Linked DNA regions of Homo sapiens: regions 1 and 2 are each linked to region 3. The links are contacts of gene promoters, found by promoter capture Hi-C in human tissues and cell types (Jung and others, 2019). All regions are on one chromosome and are shown on one strand. Each heading gives the region's core, a stretch centred on a gene start or on the middle of the fragment in contact. The rest is flanking DNA. Distances are from core to core; before and after follow the strand shown.

Region 1 (3,559 bases), core at 8-2,507, 400 kb after region 3:
GAGTAGAGAAGACAGATTTAAACCCAGACCAGAGCCACAGAAGTCTGTGGTTTAATCACTAAGCCACACTGCTTTACTGCATCTCTGGGCCACACACTATTGTGCTGTTTTTTTGCTACTATGTATTGAGCATTTTCTATGTACCAGGCACTGTTCTAAGCACTTTACATGAACTAGCTAATTTAATTTTCACAACAACTCTATAAAGTAGGTACCATTATTATCTTCATTTATAGATAAGGAAATGGGGGCAAAGAGAGTTTAAGTATAAAGTCACTGCCTGGGCAGTCTGGAGGCAGAATCTCTTAACAACACACTGGACAGCTTTTTTATCTGCTTCCTCAATTTAATAGTCAACTCCCAGACTGGGTGTGGTGGCTTACACCTGTAATCCCAACACTTTGGGAGGCCAAGGCAGGCGGATCACCTGAGGTCAGGAGTTCAAGACCAGCCTGACCAACATGGAGAAACCCCATCTCTACTAAAAATACAAAATTAGCCAGGCGTGGTGGTGCATGCCTATAATCCCAGCTACTATGGAGGCTGAGGCAGGAGAATCACTTTGCTTGAACCCGGAAGGCAGAGGTTGTGGTGAGCCAAGATTGTGCCATTGCACTCCAGCCTGGGCAACAGGAGCGAAACTCCGTCTCAAAAAAAAAAAAAAAGTCAACTCCCAGAGCACAGAGTCATCTTATTCATCTCTGACCACACTGTAGCCCCCAACACACAGCCTAGCACAAAAGAGGCCTTGGCAACTACCTGTTGAATTAAATCACTATCACAAAACACATGAGACACGTGTGTCTACCTCCCTGCAAGCACACACATTACGACTAGTTTCCTATTTTTCTCCTGAGCAAATAGTATACACCTGACACTCTGTCCTGAACACCTGCATCATCACTCCACCTGAGGTCTCACACACATGCCTGCACATCCCTTCTTCTTTAATCCCTTTTTAGCCCCTTCTCCACACACACAGGTGACATGAGGAAGCACTGTCATGCAAACCACTGCAAGATCCCAGTCTACTCTATCCCAGCTTTGGCAGATAATCAGCAACGGTAGACAGACTCAGCCACTCCCACTGAGCTCTGTCTTCAATTACGTGTGGCCAGATCTCTGAGAGAGAGAGAGAAAATGCAAATTTCCTAGCATGGAGGTTCTCCGTCAATGAGTAAGCCCAGACCCTGGGAGAGCAGGAGGGATTCCAAAGGATACACAAATTCGTATGCACACCAAACATCTGAAGGCAGATTGAAACATCTTGCATATAAAGCTAAAACCATTTTTCTAATGTATATTTTATTAACCACAATGGCAAATATAATATCAAAGTCATCTAAAAGCTTTTCCAAATTCACAGTGGCTTTGAGTCATTTATACTCACACTAAACAGATATAAAAATAATAACTGGAAGGGGTACTGTGAATTACTGACTTTTAAAAATGTCCTCAGTTGGCCAGGCGCAGTGGCTCACACCTGTAATCCCAGCACTTTGAGAGGCCAATGCGGGCGGATCACTTGAGGCCGGGAGTTCGAGACCAGCCTGACCAACATGGTGAAAACCCGTCTCTACTAAAAATACAAAAATTAGCTGGACATAGTGGCGGGCGCCTGTAATCCCAGCTACTCAGGAGGCTGAGGCAGGAGAATCGCTTGAGCCCAGGAGGTGGAGATTGCAGTGAGCTGAGATCGTGCCATCGCACTCCAGCCTAGGCACAGAGCGAGACTCCATCTCAAAAAAAAAAAAAAAAAAAAAAAGTCCTCAGTCTCAGAAAGAGTTGGGAACCATTCACAACAGATGATAAAGTGATTATAACTCCAAGGAAGCCTGGGGATTCTGACCCCTAGAGTTGTGTCAGAGAGCAGGAGCCAGGCCTGCTCCCCTTAAAGTCTTCCTTCCTCACCCCAATACCCAACCATGGGAGCCCATGCCTTTCCTCCTTGACTGGATGAGAAAGTACTCGAAGTATAATGAGCACAAGATATTATAAAAGCTACCTAGGAAATAAGGAACAAATAGAAGAAGAAATGAGGTTGCAGAGTGGGGAGAGAAAAGAAGGGAATCAGTAGGGTTATTGCTGTGCCTGTCATCTCCAGATGCAATCAGTGCCTACAACCCCCATGCCCACCCACAACATATATCTGAAAATATATACATACATGTTTTCATATGTACATACAGCTTTGCCTCAAGCCTTTATTCTCTCAATTACTTATTAATATCTCTCCATTCATTCCACAAATCTTTATCAAACACCCACTAAGTGCCTGGTACCAGATTAGGTGCTGGGAATACAGAAATGAATAAAGACACAACCCTCCCCCTTTACCACAAAGCACTGCTCTCTCAACAGATACCACACACACATCACACACACTCCACATATACACAAGCAACCCTGCCCCTACCAGCTGGCGCCCGCCTTATATCTCACTTTCCCTTTTCTTCTTCCTTTTTTTTTTTTTTTTTGAGATGGAGTCTCACTTTGTCACCCAGGCTGGAGTGCAGTGGTGCCATCTCAGCTCACTGCAACCTACACCTCCCAGGTTCAAGCAATTCTCCTGCCTCAGCTTCCCAAGCAGTGGGGATTACAAGTGCCCGCCACCATGCCTGGCTGATTTTTGTATTTTTAGTAGAGACGGGGTTTTACCATGTTGGCCAGGCTGGTCTCGAACTCCCGACCTCAAGTAATCTGCCCGCTTCAGCCTCCCAAAGTGCTGGGATTACAGGCGTGAGCCACTGCACCTGGCTCACGTTTCTTTTTCTTACATGACTCTCTCTCACACACACACAGACACACACACACACAATGGGTCAGATACATATATTCAACCATCTCTCACAGCTTCACCACAGCTGACACAAACATTCATCTGATACCAAGCCATATTATACACACAGCCATCCCTCTCACACAGTTACTCAAACACATCTTAGACACACAACCACACAACCCGTATTCAGAAGCATGCACTTGTTTGCCTCACTGGAAGCCTCTGGCCAATGAATCCTCTCAGGGAATGGATACAAAGGCTCTGGTTGACCAAGGTGCCTCTGGCTGCATTTTTCACACACCCAAGCCCAATTCAGCCACAGTGAGGCCAGGGACCGGTTACCCTAACCTCCCGTAGCTCGAGCTTTCCCTCCATCAAATCAGAGGATGATTCATCCTGTTTTCTTAGGCAGGCTTTGGGGGAAGGGTAGAGGAACCAGAGGATCAAATTAAGGTTCTGGAAAGAAAGAGTCCTCATGCAATCCGGCTGTCTTACTGAGGCCTCACGTTAAAACACAAGCACATGAGCAGACACCCTCACACTTGGGAACTACTCACTCTACTAGGCACTAGACTCCTCTATCTGCAAACACTGGTATTCAAACAGACCCATTCACACGTCAAATACACACTGCCAGACTCGCGGGCCTCTACACGCAGGCAAACACACACCGACACAGAATTTCACAGTTTAGGAAACAGCTGAACTCCTTGGAGAAAGGGTGAGAAGGTGTCAGCTTAACTTAATACACAGTTCCTGATGACGTAACCCACAACC
Region 2 (3,328 bases), core at 505-3,004, 360 kb after region 3:
TATATTCTTAAAGGTGAATGGGGTATCTACTCTATGTTGGCCACTGTGCTAATGCTTCCACAGATGTGCTCTTATTTTCTCCTCTCGATGGCCCTTGTGGGGTTATTCCTTCTACAGATAAGGAAACAGAGTCTCACATGCAGCAAGTAGGGGAGCTGAGGTGTAATCCAGGTCTGACTGATGCCAAATGCTGTGCTCTTTCTGCCAATGTCCGATGACAGAAAGGACAATTGGGAAGACGTGAGGGGGGTGGAGGAGAAGCGGCAGGGAAGAATATAGGAAATGGTGTAGAAGAGACCCGCTGAAGAGAGACGGAGAGGATGTCAGGGCAGATGGAAAGGGGTGGCCCATGGAAGGGGAAGGGTCCAGAGGCCTCCTGACCTTTTCGCCCATCCCTCTGGAAGTCCACGTGACACCACTCGCCATCATTGACCTTGCGGCTGGATGCCCGCAGCTTGATGCCCCCAGATCCCATGTCCAGCAGAAGATAGAGGTGGCCGTCCAATAGCTCCATGGCAAAGTAGTCGGCCCGCTGAGCAGAGCTGTGGCTGCCAGCTCCACCCCCAGCCCGCCGGCCCTGGCTGAAGAGCAGCAGCCCATTGGGCTCGGTGGTGCGGAAGTCTAGGGAGATGGAGCCAGTGCGCTTAGCGCTCCAGCGGGGCAGCGCCACAAAGGCCTCGGGACTCTCAAAGGTCACAGGGTCCAGGGCAGCCACATCCTCACAGCGGAATGACAAGTCCCCCTGCAGCTTCATCTTGGGGTCCCCTTCCTTTGCCAGGCGGGATAGTTCCAATTTGAAGTCATTGTTCTTATAGACCACCTGCAGGGAGGGGTGGGGTCAGGGATAAAGAATCCGAAAGCAGCTTAGGGCCTGGCCACTCCCACCCAGCAGCGAGCACCAGGGGACCCAGCCACCCACCCCTGTAGCCCCTGCTCAGTTCCACCAGACCACCCGCTTAGGCCTCTGTTCTACAGCTTCAGACACAGAGGCTGTGAACAAGCACCTCCCTTGCCCGTCCTCTGTCCTGTCTTCTGGCCCAGCAGGAGCATGGTGGCTTGCCTGTGGGTTCTCAGTGCCCACTAAATTGCAGTTCATAATAATGACAAGGCCACTGACGTGTGGTAGCTGTTTTCCACTCAATGAAGTATGTTCACTTACACTCTCATGTGCCCCTCACAACCTTATGAAGTAGGCACTGACTACCCATCCACAGAGGAGGAAACTCAGCATCAGACAGTCAAGTGACTTGACCACAGTCACAGAACCAATGAGTGGAAGAGTTGGGACTCAAGCAAGGTCTTTAGTCTTCATACCCAGCATTCTTTCCTCTGTACCACAGCTGCCTTTGAGGGTCCTCTATGAGGATAGGGGTTTCCAAGGCTCAAGGAAATCAAAGGGGAGAAGCCTCTTGATGGAGTCAGTGGGCCTTAGGTTTTAAAGAGGGGGTGTCTCCCACCATGGACTTGGAAGGAACAGATGACCCAGACAACTAGCCAGGTCAGACTAAGTCACGCTGAAGACAGGAGACAAAGGGCTCCTGAACAGCCTGCAGCCCCTCCCTAGCCCTACTCACGTCCTTGAGGCAGCCCATGAAGTTGTTGCTGACGGGCGAGCCCGGCAGGTCAGCTGTGTTGGGGCTGCCCCCAATGTAGAAGAAGTCATCAGAGCCCAGCATGGTGTAATCCTCCTGCGTGTAGCCTGTGGTGGTCAGGATCCCGTCCACCGAGATGGTCACCTGTCCAGCCCAGGAGGGAGGGAGAAAGACAGGAGACAACCAACATCAAATCCCTAGGAAGAGCTACGGCTAGGCAAAGGAGGGGCCAGAGGGCAGCAGGGGAGGGGGACCCCCATTTTTATGTCTGCTTGTCTTGGAGGAGGAACAGTGGGGGAAGAGAGGAAATGAGGAAAAGGAGGCAGCACAAGATTTGATGGTTTCAGGGTGGGCTAAGACCTGCCCTCTGGCCCCCAACTCAGCAGGCAGGAGCCTGAAGGGTACTTGGAGAGCTCCCCATGAGGTCCCCCAAGAAGTAGTTCCTGGAGGGCACTCTGAACAGGAATGGGGGCTCCAGGACGGATCCCCCATTCTGGGGCACAGGATGGGTGCAAATGGCATCCTCACTTTTCTTCTCCTGAAGGTACTCTCTGGACACACACGTAACTCCAGAACTTCTTTCAAAAGTGTGCCAGAGAATGGTGTTCCCCAGACCTTGGTGGCTTAGACTCACCTGCAGCCCTCTCTGCTGGGTGCTGGAAAGTCTTTCAGTCTGGACCCAGTAGGGAGATGGAAGATAGCAGTGTGAGGAGCAGGAACTCAAATATTCCTGGGAAGTCTTGAAACTTTCTGGGGTTGCCTATTGGGGTTGATTTCCACCCCTGCAGCCCAATCTCCAGGTTTGCACTTCTAGCCCTTTCCTGAGTCTGTCTCTTCACTCCTCAGGTCTCCTTATATTCAGGTCACTCTCTTGCCTCCAAAGGAGAGGGGAGCCCTTTAGCTACATCAACCCACTCTTCCTTCTTCCTGTCTAATTGCCTTGTCTACTGACACCACTAGAGTTACTCCAGGGAGTCAGGGCCAGCTTAGGGAACAGACGGGGACAGGGCTAACTTAATGAATACCTTGCCCCTGGGCTGAAAGTTCAGTAAGAAAGCAGGATGAGCAGGAATGGGGGAGTACTTGGTATTCCAGGAGGCAGGGGGGCTCAGCGGTGGCCTGGAGAATGCAGAAGTAATCTTAGATGGGGCGGGGCATGACAAGGACAGGAAACTCTCCAACTCTCCCAGTCTCCCCAGGCAAATGCCCACCTTCTCCAAAAAATCTAACTCTACAAGCAGCCCACAAGGTTCAAGACACCCAGAAAGGTTGTGGGAGAAGGGCCAAGGGCTATGAGACCACGAGCCCCTACTCTAGGAAGGCAGTGGTTTGGAAGGGTCAGCTGGGAAAGAAGGCAGAGCTCTGCAGGGTCAACAGGAAGCTGGCTCAGGGTTAGCCCAACACTGTGCTTCTGCAGGCCACAGCTCACCCCATTTCTCTTTCGGGAACAGTCTAGAGATTGGGGCCTTCCAGTCACATCCTATGCCCTCCTCACCCACACCAGTCTATATGCACATGCCACCAGCCATCTTCCAGCGACTGGTCTCCAGGGGTCCATGGTCTCGGTGGGTGAGGTGGAGGAACTCCAAAGGGACATGAGCAGAACTGGGGTAAGGGAGCTTCCTGCCCTCCCAGGACCCCAAGTCCCCCTTGTGCTTGGCTGGAGCCTCGCAGTGAATAGGGTAGAGCTAAGCCCCACTCTCCACCTCCTGGGAACCATCAAACCTTGTGCTGGG
Region 3 (3,196 bases), core at 117-2,616:
TCTGGTTGGGGAGTTGTGAGGAGCCTTTGGACAGTGGATTATGTGGGTGAACTTTTGCTGCTGTGGTAGGAAAGCCCAGCGGTGATAAAGGGCCAGCTGATGGCTTAGAGTGGGTGGCTGGTCCAGAAGGTGGGCAAACTGCTCGCTACCACCGCCCTAGTTCAGGCCTGCAACCTCTTCCCTAGCCTTGACCTCATCCATCCTCCACCTTAACACTCAGCACCCTTAGAGATGCAAAGTTCCCCAGGCTAACACAGACCTGAGTGCCCTGCGCTACTGCTACCTCGAATCATCTGCGGTTCCTCGAATCACACATGCGGCGCCCCCTGGTGGGGAGACCTTTCGGTTGCTCACTGCCCTGAGCCGAGCTCTGCCCTCCTCCTAGGCTACCAGTTAGGGATCGGCAGGGACCACTTCCTGACTAAGGAGCTGCAGCGATACATCGAAGGGCTCAAGAAGCGCCGGAGCAAGAGGCTGTACGTGAATTAAAAACGCCACCTTGGGCTCGAGCAGCGACCCGAACCAGCCCCGTGCCAGCCCGGTCCCCAGACCCAAGCCTGACCCCATCCGAGTGGAATTTGAGTCCTAAAGAAATAAAAGAGTCGATGCATGGTCCGTGAGTCAGTGCAGGACAGCCCGCGTGAGGCGGACGCACGTGGCCCCGCCCTTCCCCGTGACCTTCATTCGGTCACCGCAGTGACCTTCATTCGGTCACCGCAGTGACCTTGAGCTTTCTCCGTCCGGGCCCTATCGGCCCTACCTTCCGGGACTCGCAATCCAGGACTTATTGCATGTTTTAAGTCGGCTTCACCCACCCCGAGTTCCGCAGCTCTGTGGGGCTACTGGGTCTACGGTTCGAGTGCTCAGTTGGTGTCGCTTTGGGGGAAGGGGGTAGGGGGAACGGGGCAGCACCTCCCTCCTCGCGACGGCGCGCTAGGCTCCGCCCCTCAAGCATAGGTAGCAGGTCCAGCCTCTCCGCTCGTCCCGCCCTTGCGTTTTCATCTGTAAGTGGTCTCTTGGCTCCGCGACTGCAGCCTGCACCGCCTCGCCCACTCCTCTCGCGCGCAGCAAGCCCCGCCTCCTCCGTTACGAAAGAGCGCTTCTGGCCCCACTTGCTCTCGGCTCTATTGTCCCCGCCCTCCGCGTCTCCGGCCCCGCCCCTCCCAGGGGCCGCGTACGCATGTGCGCCGCAGTGGCTCGGCGGGCTGCGGGGCGGGACCTGCACGAAGGCCCGCCCACTGGCGCTGCCGGCTCCGCCCCGACTCGTCCGGGCGCGCAGGCGCCGCCCGCCCCGCTGGTCTGATTAGCATAGGACCCCGGGCCCCGCCCCCTGCTTTGCATGCGCACGGCCGGCCCCACCCCCGCTGTCAGCTGGAGGAAGCGGAGTAGGAAGCGGCCGCGATGTCCTTTTGTGTCCTACAAGCAGCCGGCGGCGCCGCCGAGTGAGGGGACGCGGCGCGGTGGGGCGGCGCGGCCCGAGGAGGCGGCGGAGGAGGGGCCGCCCGCGGCCCCCGGCTCACTCCGGCACTCCGGGCCGCTCGGCCCCCATGCCTGCCCGACCGCGCTGCCGGAGCCCCAGGTCCGGGGGCGGAGGGGAGCGCTGCCGCGGGGGTGGGCGGGCGGGGCGCGGGGGCCATGTGCGAGCGCGGCAGGGAGGCGGGCGGGGCGGGCTGCAGGCGGGGTCCGACTCTGGGGCCAGTCCGGGCCACGGTTGGGACCCAGTCGAGGGTCGGACTGGTCAGGGTTCAGGCGGGATCCGGCGTCCGAGTCCTGGTGGGCCGGCCTGGGGCAGGATCTGGCTCTGGCTGCGGGTCCTGACTCGGGTCAGGGTTGGGCCTCCGATCCAGCCCGCTCCGGGGCAGGGTTCAATCCCGCATTTGCCGAAGTCCCTGGGGCTGGCCGGGGTGGAAGACGGGGAGGGCTCTATGTCTGGGAAGGGGCTCTGAAGACCACGTGGGGGCGCTCGAAGGGGCCTGGGGCCACCCTCCTCTCTGGGTCAAAGGTCATCGCACCGGCAGGGGAGAACTTCCTCCTCCTTGGCTCTCCCCACTTACTTCCTGATAACCTGGTAGAGGTCTCCCGCGGGCGGGGAGGGGGAGGCGTAGCAACTTTAGGCAACTTCCCAAAGGTGTGCGCAGGTTGGGGGCGGGACGCGGCGCCCCGGGAGGTGGCGGCCTCTGCGACAGCGGGAGTATAAGAGTGGACCTGCAGGCTGGTCGCGAGGAGGTGGAGCGGCGCCCGCCGTGTGCCTGGGACCGGCATGCTGGGGCAGGAGGGCAGCCGCGTGTCAGGTGTGAAAAGCTCTGGAGGTGTTTTCATGAGTCCGTGCCTGTGCGTGTGGATGTGGGGAGACCTAGTGAGAGTGTGTGTGATCATGAGCCTTGACTGAGTTCGTGGATGGGGTGTGCGCTCCAGGAGAAGTGTGTGAGCACAAGTGTGAGCAGGAGTGAGCACGGGTTTGGGAAGGCCGGTGCAAGTGTGAAAGCCCTCAGCAGAGAGCGAGCCTGCGTGGGCTTGTGGGGCTCCTGAGCACCCCGGTGAGTGGAGTGTGTGAACTCGGTGTGAGCACGTCCACTGGCCTTGGGTCTGCTCTCCAATGCAGAATACCCAGATGAGGGCAGGGTCTCAGAGGTCCCCCCAACATCTGGAGAAAACTGGGAAGTATCCTGCTCCTGGCTAGGGATTCCAGGTGGGGTTGAAGGTTGCCTGGGGGCTACGGTTACCCTGCTCCCTGGCCTGGGTGGGAGTAGGGGCTTTCTAAGCCTCCCCCAGGTTCCCAAGGGGGAGACCTGCTGTCAGTTACTGGCCCTGAAGACTCTGTTTCCATGGCAACAGCTAGGAGGGGGCAGTGTTCCTGGGCAGTCCTTCCTTGGACTCTGCCCCCCTTCTTCCCCACTTGCTGGGCTTGGAAGCCTGGCCCTAGGCCCGAGGTTGGGCAACCCGTGTGGCAGGGTGTCTCCCATCCCCCATACCAGTGCTTTCCTGCGAACCTATGGGTCTCTCCGTGCAGGTGACCAGCGCCATGTCCAGCCAGGTGGTGGGCATTGAGCCTCTCTACATCAAGGCAGAGCCGGCCAGCCCTGACAGTCCAAAGGGTTCCTCGGAGACAGAGACCGAGCCTCCTGTGGCCCTGGCCCCTGGTCCAGCTCCCACTCGCTGCCTCCCAGGCCACAAGGAAGAGGAGGATGGGGAGGGG

Evidence for each region. The method cuts DNA at HindIII sites, captures the fragments that hold promoters and counts their contacts. A contact is called where the count stands out against the background at its distance.
Region 1: a fragment that was not itself captured here is called in contact with the fragment with the promoter of ESRRA in region 3 in 1 of the 25 tissues and cell types used here (hippocampus).
Region 2: a fragment that was not itself captured here is called in contact with the fragment with the promoter of ESRRA in region 3 in 1 of the 25 tissues and cell types used here (dorsolateral prefrontal cortex).

What each region holds. Positions count from the first base shown.
Region 1 is chr11:64,707,449-64,711,007 of GRCh38, forward strand. The region is part of intron 2 of NRXN2 (neurexin 2); the gene reads right to left. Among named protein-coding and RNA genes, the nearest start is that of NRXN2, 14 kb to the right of the region's middle. The HindIII fragment of the contact is 7,389 bases long and covers 1-3,559 here.
Region 2 is chr11:64,666,869-64,670,196 of GRCh38, forward strand. NRXN2 (neurexin 2) reads right to left here. Exons shown (of 23, transcript NM_015080.4): 8 at 1,575-1,736; 9 at 382-820. Among named protein-coding and RNA genes, the nearest start is that of NRXN2-AS1, 25 kb to the left of the region's middle. The HindIII fragment of the contact is 7,810 bases long and covers 1-3,328 here.
Region 3 is chr11:64,304,158-64,307,353 of GRCh38, forward strand. It overlaps ESRRA (estrogen related receptor alpha), which reads left to right and starts at 1,367. Exons shown (of 7, transcript NM_004451.5): 1 at 1,367-1,579; 2 at 3,011-3,196. The coding sequence starts at 3,023. CATSPERZ (catsper channel auxiliary subunit zeta) reads left to right here. Exons shown (of 5, transcript NM_001039496.2): 5 at 386-613. The coding sequence ends at 489. It overlaps KCNK4-CATSPERZ (KCNK4-CATSPERZ readthrough (NMD candidate)), which reads left to right. Exons shown (of 11, transcript NR_133662.1): 11 at 386-612. RefSeq lists a silencer at 1,074-1,583 and an enhancer at 1,994-2,063. The HindIII fragment of the contact is 12,153 bases long and covers 1-3,196 here.